Regions from separate parts of the Homo sapiens genome. Here regions 2, 3, 4 and 5 are each linked to region 1. Evidence: promoter capture Hi-C in human tissues and cell types (Jung and others, 2019). All regions are on one chromosome and are shown on one strand. Each heading gives the region's core, a stretch centred on a gene start or on the middle of the fragment in contact. The rest is flanking DNA. Distances are from core to core; before and after follow the strand shown.

The links. The method cuts DNA at HindIII sites, captures the fragments that hold promoters and counts their contacts. A contact is called where the count stands out against the background at its distance.
Region 2: a contact is called between the fragment with the promoter of APOBEC3C here and the fragment with the promoter of NPTXR in region 1, in 2 of the 25 tissues and cell types used here (adrenal gland and spleen).
Region 3: a contact is called between a fragment that was not itself captured here and the fragment with the promoter of NPTXR in region 1, in 3 of the 25 tissues and cell types used here (aorta, lymphoblastoid cells and spleen).
Region 4: a fragment that was not itself captured here is called in contact with the fragment with the promoter of NPTXR in region 1 in 3 of the 25 tissues and cell types used here (aorta, dorsolateral prefrontal cortex and spleen).
Region 5: a contact is called between a fragment that was not itself captured here and the fragment with the promoter of NPTXR in region 1, in 2 of the 25 tissues and cell types used here (dorsolateral prefrontal cortex and spleen).

The regions. Positions count from the first base shown.
Region 1 is chr22:38,842,595-38,845,670 of GRCh38, reverse strand. NPTXR (neuronal pentraxin receptor) reads left to right here and starts at 1,643. Exons shown (of 5, transcript NM_014293.4): 1 at 1,643-2,436. The coding sequence starts at 1,813. RefSeq lists a silencer at 2,055-2,124. The HindIII fragment of the contact is 15,093 bases long and covers 1-3,076 here.
Region 2 is chr22:39,012,750-39,015,825 of GRCh38, reverse strand. It overlaps APOBEC3C (apolipoprotein B mRNA editing enzyme catalytic subunit 3C), which reads right to left and starts at 1,569. Exons shown (of 4, transcript NM_014508.3): 1 at 1,447-1,569; 2 at 75-231. The coding sequence starts at 1,463. RefSeq lists a silencer at 1,279-1,328 and enhancers at 1,439-1,548, 1,121-1,738, 1,468-1,762, 1,739-2,357. The HindIII fragment of the contact is 14,453 bases long and covers 1-3,076 here.
Region 3 is chr22:38,996,534-38,999,609 of GRCh38, reverse strand. APOBEC3B-AS1 (APOBEC3B antisense RNA 1) reads left to right here and starts at 1,390. Exons shown (of 5, transcript NR_104187.1): 1 at 1,390-1,524; 2 at 1,873-2,129. RefSeq lists an enhancer at 885-1,525. The HindIII fragment of the contact is 5,994 bases long and covers 1-3,076 here.
Region 4 is chr22:38,687,515-38,690,590 of GRCh38, reverse strand. JOSD1 (Josephin domain containing 1) reads left to right here. Exons shown (of 5, transcript NM_001360236.2): 3 at 1,167-1,295; 4 at 1,462-1,656; 5 at 2,590-3,076. The coding sequence ends at 2,689. Among named protein-coding and RNA genes, the nearest start is that of TOMM22, 7.1 kb to the right of the region's middle. The HindIII fragment of the contact is 8,429 bases long and covers 1-3,076 here.
Region 5 is chr22:38,707,091-38,710,166 of GRCh38, reverse strand. GTPBP1 (GTP binding protein 1) reads right to left here. Exons shown (of 12, transcript NM_004286.5): 2 at 1,211-1,322. Among named protein-coding and RNA genes, the nearest start is that of GTPBP1, 2.7 kb to the right of the region's middle. The HindIII fragment of the contact is 3,166 bases long and covers 36-3,076 here.

The sequences.
Region 1 (3,076 bases), core at 394-2,893:
TGTCTTCACGGCACACGTGTAGATGTACCAGGAGTCCCGATGTCTCATGCATCCCCAGGACTTTAGCAGGGCCTACCGCTGGCCTTTGCCTTCCAAGAGCCCAGCCCATCTCTCTGTCCATGAGATGCTTCCTCCAAGCCCAGCTGCCTGCCCTGGGTTTTGAGGTTACGACTTCAGTGAGCACCAGCACACATCCACGCACACACAGCACTCAGGTTCCTGGCATACAGCGCTTGTGTTTGCTTCTCTCCTCTTTCACAACTCAGGTATGGATGAAAATCCCTGGCTCCTAGAGATGGGTGAACAGGGTGGACATCATCCTAACATGTGTGGAGAGAGGGAGGTGGAGCACGTGTGCCTGGGAACACTGGACAAAATCCCCGTGGCTGGAGAGCGTCCCCCAGGGTTGTGGCTTCCTGGGAAACATTCCGGTCTCTCCCCACCACCAGCGCTATGTGAAGTACACTCGAAACCACAGTGGTAGCCGTGGTGGTCCAGAGATCCTGGTTTGCGCTTTCCCTTCAAGTCAAAAATGCAGGCTTGGAAGGGAGACAGAGCTGGGAATAACCACAGCCCTCCCAAGGCCCTTCCAGCCCTGGGAATCCGTATTGGTCAGGAAAGACCTCATGGAAAATTGGAGCTGGGGATAAAGTGTGGAGGATAGTAGGATTGTTTTTAAGTTTTTAATTGCAAAGTTAATTTTCAACAAAATATATATAGACATTTTTGACAGAAGAAAGTAAAACGCTCCTCTGCCACCCCCACAGCACAGCCCACTCCCATTCCTGCTGTTCCTTCTGGGCCTGGTCCACATGCCCACCAGGCACGTGGCACCGCTTGCCAACGAAGGCAGACTGCAGTGGGGGTGGGGGGTTTCTCTGGACCTGTGAGGCTCTAAGCCCCCAAGGATTCAGAGGAGAGAATTTCCATCATCCTCTGAGATCACAGGAAGATTCTGTAATGAGGGTGGCGGGGAGTGAACTCTGCTCCTTCAGAAGGTTGGAGGTGGGGGTGACGGGCAGGTGGCCACAGTATAAACAGAAGTTAGGTCAAAATCCGAGCCTCCCCCCAACCCCCAACACTGGCCTCTTCTCCACCTCTAACCGCTCCCACTCCAGCCCCATCCACAGTCTGGTCCGGTGAAACGTGCCTAAGCTCGCAGGCGGCTCCAACGCAGCCACCCGGTGACCTTGGACAGAGGCCTGACCTCAGGTGTCTCAGTTTCCTCATTTCTATTGTGAGCCTGTCCACGGCAAGGCTCAATTGCGACCGAGCTTGTGGCGCGCCCAGTGCACAGCCCCACCCGGAAGAAAGCTCCCTCCCGGGTGGATGTGAACATAACCGGCTTGGGGAGGGGGCCCGAGCACGGGAGGGCTGGGATGGGGGTCACCCAGGAGCCCCGCCGCGCGGCCCTCGGGTCGCCGGCCCCTGCGCTGTGACCGCGGCGAGATAAGGTCCCAGGCGCTGCCCTCGCTCCTCGCCGCATCCCCGGCGGCGCCCCCAGCCGGGCGCCCGGCACTGAACGGGTGCGGGGCTGGGCCGGGGCCAGGGCCGGCCCGGGGAAGCGAGTGGGGCGGGGCCGCCGCGCCCGCTCCCCCTCCCCGCCGCCTGCCGTCTTCTCCTCCTCCCGCCGCCCGGGCTCAGAGCGGCGGCAGCAGCGGCCGCGGCGACAGCTCCAGCTCCGGCTCCGGCTCCGGCTCCGGCTCCGGCTCCCGCGCCTGCCCCGCTCGGCCCAGCGCGCCCGGGCTCCGCGCCCCGACCCCGCCGCCGCGCCTGCCGGGGGCCTCGGGCGCCCCCGCCGCCCGCCTCACGCTGAAGTTCCTGGCCGTGCTGCTGGCCGCGGGCATGCTGGCGTTCCTCGGTGCCGTCATCTGCATCATCGCCAGCGTGCCCCTGGCGGCCAGCCCGGCGCGGGCGCTGCCCGGCGGCGCCGACAATGCTTCGGTCGCCTCGGGCGCCGCCGCGTCCCCGGGCCCGCAGCGGAGCCTGAGCGCGCTGCACGGCGCGGGCGGTTCAGCCGGGCCCCCCGCGCTGCCCGGGGCACCCGCGGCCAGCGCGCACCCGCTGCCGCCCGGGCCCCTGTTCAGCCGCTTCCTGTGCACGCCGCTGGCTGCTGCCTGCCCGTCGGGGGCCCAGCAGGGGGACGCGGCGGGCGCTGCGCCGGGCGAGCGCGAAGAGCTGCTGCTGCTGCAGAGCACGGCCGAGCAGCTGCGCCAGACGGCGCTGCAGCAGGAGGCGCGCATCCGCGCCGACCAGGACACCATCCGTGAGCTCACCGGCAAGCTGGGCCGCTGCGAGAGCGGCCTGCCGCGCGGCCTCCAGGGCGCCGGGCCCCGCCGCGACACCATGGCCGACGGGCCCTGGGACTCGCCTGCGCTCATTCTGGAGCTGGAGGACGCCGTGCGCGCCCTGCGGGACCGCATCGACCGCCTGGAGGTGAGCGCCGCGCGCCGTCGGGGGAGCCGCCCGGGTGGTGTGAGGGGCCGCCCGGCCGCGGTCGTCCGGCGGTCCCCGAGCCTCCGGTCTCCCGTCTGTGTTCCGGGGACGATCGCGCCTTCCTCGCTGGCGAGGCGGGGGGATTTCGATAGGGAACGCGGGCAGGCGTCTGGCACGGTGACTGAGGCACAGAGGGCGCGCCAGAAAGATTCGCTCCCCACCCTTTTCCGTCTCCAGGCACCTCTCTGAGCCTCAGTTTCTGTGTCTGTAAAATAGGTATAACAGTGTCCACTTGTAGTGGAAATTGAATCAAATGTAGGTGTGTGAAAATGCTTGGCACGTACTAGGACCTCATTAAATGTCCCTTTCATTTCCTTCTTCCGGACACCCCCAAATCAGCCCAGCTCCACGCTCACACTTTATGGCCAGGAGATGGATGCGCTGTCCAAAGGACTTGGGGTCCTCCCCTCATTACACAGAGCCGGGAACAGAGTGCCCTATAAGACAAACCTGGGTGCCCCTCACCACCTCCCTACCCTGAATCTCCCACTCTGGCTCAGACTATGACCCAAACCGCAGGAGCTCAGGTGCCAGGCGCCCAGCCTCACACACCTGGAAGCCCACAGCTCTTGGGTGGGGG
Region 2 (3,076 bases), core at 320-2,819, 170 kb before region 1:
CACTTATTGTTGCGTTTTCTGCATTCCCAGCTGCTTAGCTCCTATTTAGGGTGTAACTAGGACTTTGGTGCTACCTGGTTTCGGAAGACGCCCGTCTTCCAGGAGACAACTGAGCGGCGCTTTATACCTTCCACGGTGAAGCACAGCCAAGTTTCGTTCCGATCGTTGGCTTCCCATAGGTTTTTAAATTGGAAGTAGAATGTGCCTGGATACATTGCCTTCATCGGGTTTCTGAAGGCACAAGAGAGAAACCCCAATGCAGAGACCCCCGCACCGGAGTCCTCAGGGCTGATGCCCACTGAACACAGCTGCCTGGACGTCCCTGGGCTCTGGGCCTCCCCCATCCCTCCACAGCCCTGAGAATGTCTGCTGCTTTCCCAGGCAGGAAGACGGGGAGAGAGAAAGAGGAGGGGACGCTGGCAGGGGCAGCAGGGCCGGGGTGACCTCTCCTAGCTGGAACCCCAGCTCTGGGGCTACCAATGGAACACCCTCAACCTCCCAGTTTTTCTGCTACTTTTTTTTTTTTTTTTTTAAAGACGGCATCTCGCTCTGTCCCCCAGGCTGGAGTTTGCAATCTCAGCTCACTGCAACCTCCACCCCTCGGGTTCAAGGGATTCTCCTGCCTCAGCCTCCCAAGTAGCTGGGATTACAGACGCCCGCCAGCACCCCTGGCTAATTTTCTGTATTTTCAGTAGAGACGAGGTTTCACCATGTTAGTCAGGCTGGTCTCAAACTCCTGACCACAAGTGACCCGCCCGCCTCAGCCTCCCAAAGTGCTAGGATTACAGGCATAAGCCACCGTGCCTGGCCTAAAATAAGAGCATTTCTCCTGATCATCATATTTTTTCCTACACTCCATGTTGCAGGTGTCATTCTGAAAGGTGAACGGTGCTCACAGAGGAGGAGCCTGTGTCTGGGGTCGTGTGCATCCTACTCTGCTCACAGTGGAGGCATCTTTGGAAGAAGTGACTTATTTTCTGGTACAGAGACCATTCCCTCCCCCACACCCTCTCCTAAGACTTTGTATTGAAACAAAGTAAATCTTACAGAAATTGCACCAAAGCGCTGAGAACAAAATGCCTGATTGCTCAAATCATCCTTTGGTTCAATTCTCCCAGTTCCAGAGCTCCCAGGAATAGTGGGAAGCACACAGAGGAAGCACCCTCCCAGGGCGGGAAGCACCAGCCCGGGCATGATTTTCGGGGGAGAGTCTCAGCAGGCGGACTGGGCTGGGGCAAGTGGGGAAGGTGGCCCATTCAGAAGCAGCAGTCGTGGGACCACACAGCAGGGCAAGGAGCTTGGCTGGGAGTGGGGGCAGCGGGGGAACCAGGGGGGAGGGAGCCCAGAGGTGGGGCTGGGGCAGGGGGAGGCCAGGGCTGAGGCCCAGCAGGACCGCCTGGCAGGAAGTGGCAGGAGGGGCCTGGCGGACAAAGCGTGCAGAGGTACCTGATCTGTGGATTCATGTTCAGCCTCTTAGATATGCTTGTCCCTGTCCCACTCTTTTCTGAAGCGCTGTGGCTTCTCTTCCTGCTTACAGCGTCCTTGCAGTTGAGCAGCCCTCTTTAAAGTGACCTCCCAGGGCCTTGTGAATCATGGCCCCTCCCCATTCCTGCTCAGGCACTGGTGTGGGAGGCCCCGGGGTGCTTCATGTTTCTCTGGCTCTGGCCCTCTTTCTGGTTTTCTCCGGGCCCCTCCTACTGGCAGAGGAACCTCCGATAAAGACAGGCTGCTCTGTCTTTATCTGTCCTGGGCAGGACCCAACGGAACTGCAAAAAGAAGAGAAAGAGAAAGAGAAAGGCATTGCAGCCTGAGCCTGGGACGCGGGTCCAGACCCAGCTGAGAGAGGGGCAGGTGCCCCGTTGCCTGGTGGTTGGGCAGGCTGGAGCCCCCTCTCCACCACCCCCTCCCCAGCCCTAATGTGTGCCCAGAGCTTTGAGCAGCACCACCCTGTTGAGTGAGGGGAGGTTTTGAGACCCCAGTGGGGAAGGAAGTGTGGACTCCGCACAGCACAAGCGAAGGCTTAGGTGTGCCTCGAGTTCCCAGCTGTGTGCTGAGTCCATCGCACGCATCCCCTCTTCCAACCTCCCAGCTTCCAGAAGGTGGGGGGCAGTTCAGCCCCTCAGAGATGTGGGCGGAGGATTACCTAGGTGCTGAGGCAAGAGACTGAAGGCACAAACTGTTTCAGTATAATAAAGAATATACTTACAATAAGAATAGTTATAATACAAATTAGATACAGAGATGATCATGGACATTATCAATCATTAGTGTAGATATTATTAATCATTAGCTTTTAATATTACTCTTTATTGTATTACTAATATAACCAAGAAATAACCGGTGGGTATAGGGTCAGGTGCTGAAGGGCTGTTGTGAGAAGTGACCGAGAATGCAAGAGGTGAGCCCTCTGTCACACCCGCATAAGGGCTACTGGAGGGCTCCTTGGTCAGGCGGTAACGCCAGTGCCTAGGAAGGCATCGTTACTTAGCGGACCACGAAAGGGAGTCTCCCTTTTCTTGGAGGAGTCAGGGAACGCTCAGCTCCACCAGCTTCTTGTGGGAGGCTGGATAGTATCCAGGCCTGCCTGCAGCCATCCGGAGGCCTAAACCCCTCCCTGTGATGCTGTGCTTCAATGGTCACGCTCCTTGTCCACTTTCCTCCTGTACTCCTGGTCCCTCTTTGAAGTTCTCAGAAGATAGCGGTAGAAGAAATAGTGAAAGTCTTAAAGTCTTTGATCTTTCTGATAGGTGCATAGAAGAAAACGCTGACGTATACTGCCTTCCCTCTCTGCTTCGGCTACCTATAAGGGAAGGGCCCCCTGTCCTATGATCACGTGACTTGCTCGACCTTATCAATCACTTGGACGACTCACCCTCCTTACCCTGCCCCCCTTGTCTTGTATGCAATAAATAACAGTGCACGCAACCATTTGGGGCCACTACCCATCTCCGTGTCTTGATGGTAGTGGTCCCCCGGGCCCAGCTGTTTTCGCTTTATCTCTTTGTCTTGTGTCTTTACTTTTTACGATTTCTCATCTCCACACACGGGGAGAACACCCACTAAGCCCCATAGGGCC
Region 3 (3,076 bases), core at 298-2,797, 150 kb before region 1:
CCCGGTGCAGGGTCCTCATTTCCTGCAATTTCTGGCTGTTGGCAGTGGAGGGGTCAGGCTTCAAGCCTTCTCGTTGACGTTGACATGCTCAGCCAGGAAGCTGTTCACTGTCTGGGCACATTAAGGACAAGGGCTCCAGGAGATGCTCCAGGTGACCTGGTAGCACCAGTGCATGGCCAGTGGCTTTAGAATGTTCATGGAGAAGGAGAAACAAGTTTCCAGACAGTCAGATTCCTCAAGGCAGAAGAGGAGGGAAGGGGAGGGGTGGTGGTTTGGGTGACTGTGCAAGCCAGATGGGGGGTCCTCAAGCTCAGCCATTCCAGTGTGCTGCTCTCTCCTGAGAGGGAGGGAGGGAGGGAGGGAGGGAGGGAGGGAAGGAGGCAGGGAGGGAGGGAAGAAGGGAGGAAGAAAGGAAGGGAGGGAGGGAGGGAAGGAGGGAAGGAAGGGTCAAGGAAGGGAGGGAGGTGTTGTGGGAAGTCAGGGACCCCAAATGGAGGGACCAGCTGAAGCCATGACAGAAGAACGTGGATTGTGAAGATTTTATGGACATTTATTAGTTCCCCAAATTAATACTTTTGTAATTTCTTATGCCTGTCTTTACTGCAATCTCTAAACATAAATTGTAAAGATTTCATGGACACTTATCACTTCCCCAATCAATACCCTTGTGATTTCCTATGCCTGTCTTTACTTTAATCTCTTAATCCTGTCAGCCGAGGAGGATGTATTTCGCCTCAGGACCCTGTAATAATTGCATTAACTGCACAAATTGTACAGCATGTGTGTTTGAGCAATATGAAATGTGGGCACCCTGAAAAAAGAACAGGATAACAGCAATTGTTCAGGGAATAAGAGAGATAACCTTAAACTCTGACCACCGGTGAGCCGGGCAGAACAGAGCCATATTTCTCTTCTTTCAAAAGCAAATGGGAGAAATATCGCTGAATTCTTTTTCTCAGCAAGGAACATCCCTGAGAAAGAGAATGCGCACCTAGGGGTAGGTCTCTGAACTGGCCCCCCCAGGGCGTACCTGTCTCTTATGGTCGAGATTACAGAGGTGAGATAGACTCCAGTCTCCCATAGCGCTCCCAGGCTTATTAGGAAGAGGAAATTCCCGCCTACTAAATTTTGGTCAGACGGGTTGCTCTTAAAACCCTGTCTCCTGATAAGATGTTATCAATGACAATGGTGCCCGAAACTTCATTAGCAATTTTAATTTTGCCTCAGTCCTGAGGTCCTGTGATCTCGCCCTGCCTCCACTTGCCTTGTGATATTCTATTACCCTGTTAAGTACTTGATGTCTGTGACCCACACCTATTCACACACTCCCTCCCCTTTTGAAAATCCCTAATAAAAACTTGCTGGTTTTTGCGGCTTGTGAGGCATCACGGATCCTACCAACATGTGATGTCTCCCCCGGAAGCCCAGCTTTAAAATTTCTCTCTTTTGTACTCTGTCCCTTTATTTCTCAAGCCAGCCGACACTTAAGAAAATAGAAAAGAACCTACATGATTATCGGACCAGGTCCCCTGATAGGGAGGGAAGGAGGGAAGGGTGAAGGAAGGAAGGGAGGGAGGGAGGGAGATAGGGAGGGAAGGAAGGAAGGAGGGAGGGAGGGAGGGAAGGTGGGAGGGAGAGAGGGAGGGAAGGAAGGAAGAGTCAATGAAGGGAGGGAGGGAAGGAAGGAAGGGTCAATGAAGGGAGGGAGGGAAGGAAGGAAGAAAGGAAGGAAGGGAAGGAGGGAGGGAGAGAGGGAGGGAAGGAAGGGTCAATGAAGGGAGGGAAGGAAGGGAGGGAGGGAGGGAGGGAAGGGGGGAGGCAAGGAAGGACAACTGGTTCATTCATATACTAGTTCCTTCATTCCTTCAACAGTAACCCAAGAGCACCCACTCAGGGCCACGGCTCAGGCAGGAACCTGGGATGCAAGGATGGATGGCACATGGTCCTCCCTCCAGGAGATCACAGTGTAGGGAAATCAACGAGGACCCATAGTGAGCCCCTCCATCCCACGTACCCCCTCCTCTATCCACTTGTGGGCACTGCAGCCTGGACTTCTGCATCAGCAGCTGTGTGGAGGTCTGTTACCCTGAGATCTGCAGCCAGGACAGGGGGCTGTGCCCAGGAACAAGGTAGGTCAAAGGGAGGTGGGAGAGCCCAGGCGGGTGGGCGCAGCATGGGAGGGTGTGTTGCAGGAGGCTGTGGTGGCTGCTCTGCTCCAGTGACCAGAGGGAATGGCTCTAGCTACCTGGTGGGCTGGTGTTGGGCACACGAGGCATTGTCGGGGGGGCTATGATCGTGTGTAGGTCCCTCCCAGAGGGCCCCAGGCCCTGGGTTTCCATCTTTGTGGCTTCCATGCAACTGCGTTGTGCAATGTGTTTGGTCTGAGCCTGATGGGAGGAAGAAAGCTGGTCTTGTGGGGGGCTCCCCTTTCCCTACCAATCTGGGATTCCTGTGTCCATCCCCAGCTAACACCTGGTTGTGAAGGACACTGGTGTCCAGCAGGACAGGGTGTCACCATCTGATCACTCTACATGGTAGGATAGGCAAGTCTCCCCTCGCCCTTTGGCCAGCTGTAGGTTTTCATAGTTAAAGTTGAAGTCCAGGTCAGGCGCGGTGGCTCACACTTGTAATCCCAGCACTTTGGGAGGCTGAGGCGGGCAGATCACCTGAGGCCAGGAGTTCGAGACCTGCCTGGCCAACACGGTGAAACCCCATCTACTAAAATACAAAAATTAGCCGGGCATGGTGGTTCGTACCTGTAATCCCAGCTACTCAGGAGGCTGAGGCAGGAGAATCGCTCGAACTCGGGAGGCAGAGGTTGCAGTGAGCTGAGATGGTGCCATTGCACTCCAGCGGGGGTGACAGAGTGAGACTCTCTCAAAAAACAAAAACAAACAAACAAAAAAAAGTTGAAGTCCTTTGGAGACATCTGGCATCCAGAGGTCAGAGGGGAGATGAAAGGAAGACACAGACGGGTGCCCTGCAGCCCTGGCAGGCACTTGTTCATCTCTGAGGCCCCGACCACCTGGGATGAGCCTGGAAAGCTTTTTGCTTTCTTTGCTGGTGGTCTCCAGGA
Region 4 (3,076 bases), core at 222-2,721, 150 kb after region 1:
TCTCAACTAAAAATACAAAAATTAGGTGGGCGTGGTGGCGGGTGCCTGTAATCCCAGCTACTTGGGAGGCTAAGGCAAGAGAATCACTTGAACGCAGGAGACGGAGGTTGCAGTGGGCTGAGATCGCGCCATCACACTCCAGCCTGGGCGACAGAGCAAGACTCCGACTCAAAAAAAAAAGAAAGAAAAAAAATACCAGTATTTCTGCTGTGCACAGAAAAATTTTAAAAATACAAGATTTCTTAAGTTTTTTAGAGTTGACATCCTTGGCCTAACGTCTTGATTCTTTTCTGGAGATGGCATGTAGTAGCCTCTTGATCATGCACTTTATGTCCTGAGGAACTCGCCACACTTCCCTTTCTCCCCTTCACACGAAGCCCAAAGGTATGCCCCTTGAACCCTTCCTTCAAAATGGCCTTTCCCCAGCTCCTGGCCTGACAAGTTTATGAAGGTAAAATAATAGAATTAGAAATGCCTTCAGCATGGACCTTGTCTTAAAATACAGACTGGCTAAAGAAACCTGGAAGTAAATGGCTTCAAGCTGGGTGGGCAAACCAGTGCTGCAGCTGAGTTTTGTTTGCCTGGCACAAATTTTTTTTCAGTTGATTTATTGGGTATTTTAAGAAAAATTTATTCAAGTACTACACACACACACACACACACACACACACACACACAGAATGCCTTTAGGTGGGTCGTGCATTCCAGTAGGCCTCACTACTTTTTATTGCCTTATATCCAACCCCAGTTTATACATTTATGTCACCTGTCTAGGCTCCTGTATGCCTTTGAGTATTTAATGATTAATGATTACCAAGTTTGCAGGCCTTAACTAGAAAGCAGGAGTGACACCAGTTACTATCCATGCAAATGAAAAGATTGAATCCTATTTTCCAATGTTAAAAAAAAAAAAGGCTTGCATGAGGCAGGAAAATCAGTATCAGGAGGAAGAGCAGAAAGGCTGCAGGAGGCTGGGATTTCATAAGTGAGTCACCTTCATGGAACACTTACAAAATACTTAGGTAGAAGCTGGGGAAATTGCACTTGAATGTGGGGAAACTAACTTCCAGGGGCAGTGATGTAAAGTGCTCTCCATCCCTGGTAGTGCGGGGTCAGGGGGTTCAGGCATCCAGCAAGTCTCAGCCCTCCTCTTTTCACATTGGTAGGTTGTCTCCAAACACCATGGTGACACCTCACAAGAAGAGCATGCTGGGAAATGGCAACTACGATGTGAATGTCATTATGGCAGCACTTCAGACCAAAGGCTATGAAGCTGTTTGGTGGGACAAGCGCAGGTAATCTGAATCAGGCTTGACTTGATGGAGAACAGCACGGTTGTGGTATAAGCTTTTAGTACTTGGGCTCATGGCATGAGTGGGGAGGTAGCCAGTTGTGGTATTACAGCCAGGGAACCTTGGAAAATGGGCTGCATCAGAGCCTGCCACCATTTCTCCCCTGCAGGGATGTCGGTGTCATTGCCCTCACTAACGTCATGGGCTTCATCATGAATCTGCCCTCCAGCCTATGCTGGGGTCCACTGAAACTGCCCCTCAAAAGGCAGCACTGGATCTGTGTTCGAGAGGTGGGAGGGGCCTACTACAACCTCGACTCCAAACTCAAGATGCCCGAGTGGATTGGAGGCGAGAGCGAGCTCAGGTAATCGGCACCTTTTGTGACTAAGTTGCTAGGCTGCTTCATTTCTTAGGTTGGGGACACTGAGCTCATCTCTGGTTATTTGACAAAGGAAATGAAATTCCTGTGCCCTTGGATTCTCTCCCTGCCTTAGAATCATAGTGTCTCGGACCTGACCTTAATCTTCAATGGCGCATCAGTACTTTTAAGTCCTTTTGGTAGGGAAGATGCCCAGCCTGGGATACCAGCCTTCTAGTCTGGTGGGGCTGGCATTGTAACGTTCTCTCTATTTAAGACAACTGAGACAGTGTAGTTGCCAGTTCATAGAAAGGAAGACAAACATGCAGGCCAGGGAGCACTGAATTTCCCCAGGACCAAAGAACATTTGTAAAAGTTCTTTAGAGGCGATTGCTCACGCCTGTAATCTCAGCACTTTGGGAGGCCAAGGCGGGTGGATCACCTGAGGTCAGGAGTTCGAGACCAGCCTGACCAACACGGTGAAACTCTGTCTCTACTAAAAATACAAAAATTAGCCAGGCGTGGTGGCGGACGCCTGTAATCCCAGCTGGTCAGGAGGCTGAGGCAGGAGAATCACTTGAACCTGGGAGGCAGAGGTTGCAGTGAGCCGAGATCATGCCATTGCACTCCAGCCCAGGCGACAAGAGCGAAACTCCGTCTCCAAACAAACCAAGAAAAAGTCCTTTATATACTTTGGGTACTGTTATTCACAGATCCAGCTACTCTTGGCAGTAACTACAAGGATGAGCAAAATTCAGGTTGGAATTTTAACTGGACAGATTGGAGGGTAACCAAATGTGGAACCCTCCAAAACCAGATGACTACAGGGATGTGTTTTGGACTGCCGAGGGTAGAGTGAGGTTTCAGGTGACTTTGTGGTCCTGAGACTGGAATTTGCAACTTGCCAGCATTTCATTTTCTCTATCTCTTTTTCCATAGGAAGTTTCTAAAACATCATTTGCGAGGAAAGAACTGTGAACTCCTGCTGGTGGTACCAGAAGAGGTAGAGGCTCATCAGAGTTGGAGGACCGATGTGTAACAGTTCTGCCCAACCTCCCTCTCGCCTCAGCCCCTTCAGTCCTCTGTGACGTGCTGTGGCCTCTACAGTGGGTCTGCCCTTGCCACTTCCCCAAACATCTCATCAAGTTTTTCCCCTTCAGATCTGACAGTGCAATAGGACAGACGTGTGGACTGTTATAAGAACTACTCAGTGTTTTGTTCCTGGGCAAGGAAGGTAGGAGTTCTGTGCACTTAAGGCCAGTGGTCACAAACCCTTGTTTTATTTAAGAGACAGAGGAGAAAGTGGAGCGGGGAGGGAATCCTAGCTTATTTTCCCTTTTCTATGAGGACTTGACACAGGTTCTGCTGAGTTGTCACTGCTGCTCCAGACTCACCTAGAGATGCTGCCTCCACTTTCCATCCTGTC
Region 5 (3,076 bases), core at 369-2,868, 140 kb after region 1:
TTACAAAGCCTACATTCAGCAAAGAAAAGTGTTTCTTTAATGATGCATCCAGGCCCACCTGGGCTTCCTGCAAAGATGACAGAGACAAGTGCTGGTATGGGCTGAATTCATAATCGTTAACAACCCCAGCTGTCATTTCAGCAAAGATAATCCCATAATGAAGATGAAGGTAAGCAGGTCTTGTATTGAAGTTGCTAACTAGGAGTGACCAGGGGAAGAAACCATAATATACTCTGGGATTGTTGTGAGGGCTGCCTTCCTCTAAAATAGTAGGTTCTGTTACAAGGAATAAGCAGCTTGGAGAACAATAACCAGTCCCTTTCAGAATGGTTACAAGCCTATGTGTCTGACAGGATCCAGTGGGGAGAGAGGACGACCTCTGTTATCCCAGCTATCCAGACTAAATAGTCAGTAGGGTCTGGGGCAAGGAGCCTGACAAGAGAGGAATTCTGGGCATCTTTTCTCTGCTGACACCAAGAAGAATCACGGAGGTCCTCTGCTAAGCAGAAAATAAGTCGCAATGGGATCTGTAAACAGGGCCTGGAAGGGAAGACCTCCAGCTGCCCAGGAATAAGCTTAATTCTAGACCTAACTATGGCTTGCCCTATTACCTTAGACAAGAAGTTCCTTTGCTTTGTGCTTCATTTCCTCTTATGCAAATAGAGAGTACTGGAGGTAAAAAGGAAGCATCTGTAAAACTGCTTGGAAAGTCAAGCATATTATGGCCACTAAGGTCAGAATTAACATTCACTTTGTACTTTTATGTACTCCAAACAGTTCTGCAGACACTAAAGAATCACTGTAACTGAGACACATAAGCAGAAAAGTTCAAAAAGCGGGGAAAATGTGCTCTAAATAATTTCTTTTTTTTTTTGAGACAGAGTTTCACTCTTGTCGCCTAGGCTGGAGCACAATGGCACGATCTTGGCTCACTGCAACCTCCGCCTCCCAGGTTCAAGCAATTCTTCTGCCTCAGCCTCCCAAGTAGCTGGGATTACAGGCGCCTGCCACCACTAATTAGCGCCCGGCTAATTTTTTGTATTTTTAGTAGAGATGGGGTTTCACCATGTTGGCCAGGCTGGTCTCGAACTCCTGACCTCAGGTGATCCACCCGTCTTGGCCTCCCAAAGTGCTGGGATTACAGGCGGCAGGGCCACCGCACCCGGCCCAATAATTTTTAAAAATAAAGTGAAAGGAAAACTATGCTCACCTGATCCCTGCCCAATGACATATATGGTCTCTCCGCATCCCTCGTCCATCCTCTCCCACATCTGCCGAAGTAGGCTGTCATACTGCTCTGATGTAGGGCTCACTAGAACCAGCTAGAAAAGAAACCAACAGCCTTAGGACCACACTTGCTAGAAGAGCACCACAGCCAAAGCTGATCAATATAGCCTAACCAAAGATCCTGACTGAACCCCATAGCACCCTCATCTAAAAAGGCTGCACAGCCCCTTCATGCCCTCTCTGCTTCTCCTGAAGTAGCCTTTGAGCCTCAGGCCTTATATGAGCCAAATAATATACTACAATGTGTATGTCTGAGCCATAACCCATGGTAAAGAGGGCACAAGCAGCCTGCCTCCTGCTGCTTAACAGGAAGGGCAGGACCCAAGTGACTGAGAATATGGCACTGTGGATAGAAAGCGCAGTGCTTTCCATCTACATGCCAAAGTCTTCTACCTGCAGTTGGCATCTGGAAGCCCACAAGACATATACCTCATATACCTCCATGCCCTCCACCCACAGGCCAGTGGCTTCCAGGATAACAAAAGAATTCTGTTCTATCTTGTCTTAGCTATATTGAATATTTGGGAATGAAAACTGCCTGCAAGACTCATCTTCATCAACAAAGCACCATCACCATTACCACTACGAGGAGTATTAGCACCGTCATTTTGCAAATGTCTGCCAATAACATTGAAGTGTCAACCATTTACTTGGGTAAGCCATTTGGCAATCAGACCCCATTCTCTAACCACTCCTGTGTGACCTTGGACAAAGAATTTAACCACTCTGAGTTTCAGTTTTTCAATCTATAAAACGGAGCTAATACTACCTGCATCCTAAGGCCACTGTAAAGAGCAAATATAATAACATGTAAAGCATCTAGTCCACAGCTCAATAAATGTGAAACTACAAGGTTTTCTTCACCCAATCATTCCCAGAAAAACCTTGTTGGATGAAACTAGCCACCACTATTCACTAAGTGTTTCTCCCTTTGGAAGCTCTCGGAGCCTTAGGTCTCCACATTTTCTATCGTAAGGACATGAACCTTTCGCTTCTAATCTGTTCCTCCGGAATCAATCTATTCAACCCAACCCTTCTCTCCCTCCACACCATCACTTTTTCTTTTTGATATCATCGATATTAATATACATATGATTTTTTTTAATTGTAAGGAGGACTTCCCCAGCTATGTGATGAAATAACACTTCTAGGAATATTAAATGAGCTGGTCAAGAAATGAAGGTACTACCGTCTTTGCAACTCTGCCCTGCAATTTCCTATCATGTTTCTTCAGCACCTTGACCATGTGTTGACATCCAGTTTGTTTGCTCTTGAGTCAGGTCCATAATCTTGTAACTTCCTGAGTTGACTCATCAGAGCTTGTAATTGTAACCTGGATGTTTCCTGGGTCTTTTACATCGTCCTGGCCATCCCTCTCTCTAAGTTTGGCCATCCTCATTATGGCCTTACAGGCACAAGACAGGACCAACTTTGACAGGCTAGCTGGCTTCCAAGTGCTCACCTGAGACTACAATGGCAAAGAGCAGTTGAAAATAACTTGCTTAGGTTGCAGGGAAAGTTCCTCCCCAGTTTAGGACCAAGTTTCATGCAAATTTGCCGCCATAAACTATAAAAAGTCACAAACATTTTCAAAGCTGGATAAAATGTCTATCGTAACTATCCTACAAATGTAAGTGGTGGTATTGGTGTTCTATCTTTCACCCACTGCTATTTAATCTGCACAGGAAATTAGGAACTATCTCGTTCACTTCAAACATTTACTGAGTCTCTAGTATGCATCAGGCACTATTAGGTGTCTTCTTAAATATTTCTAATTTTTACAACCCAT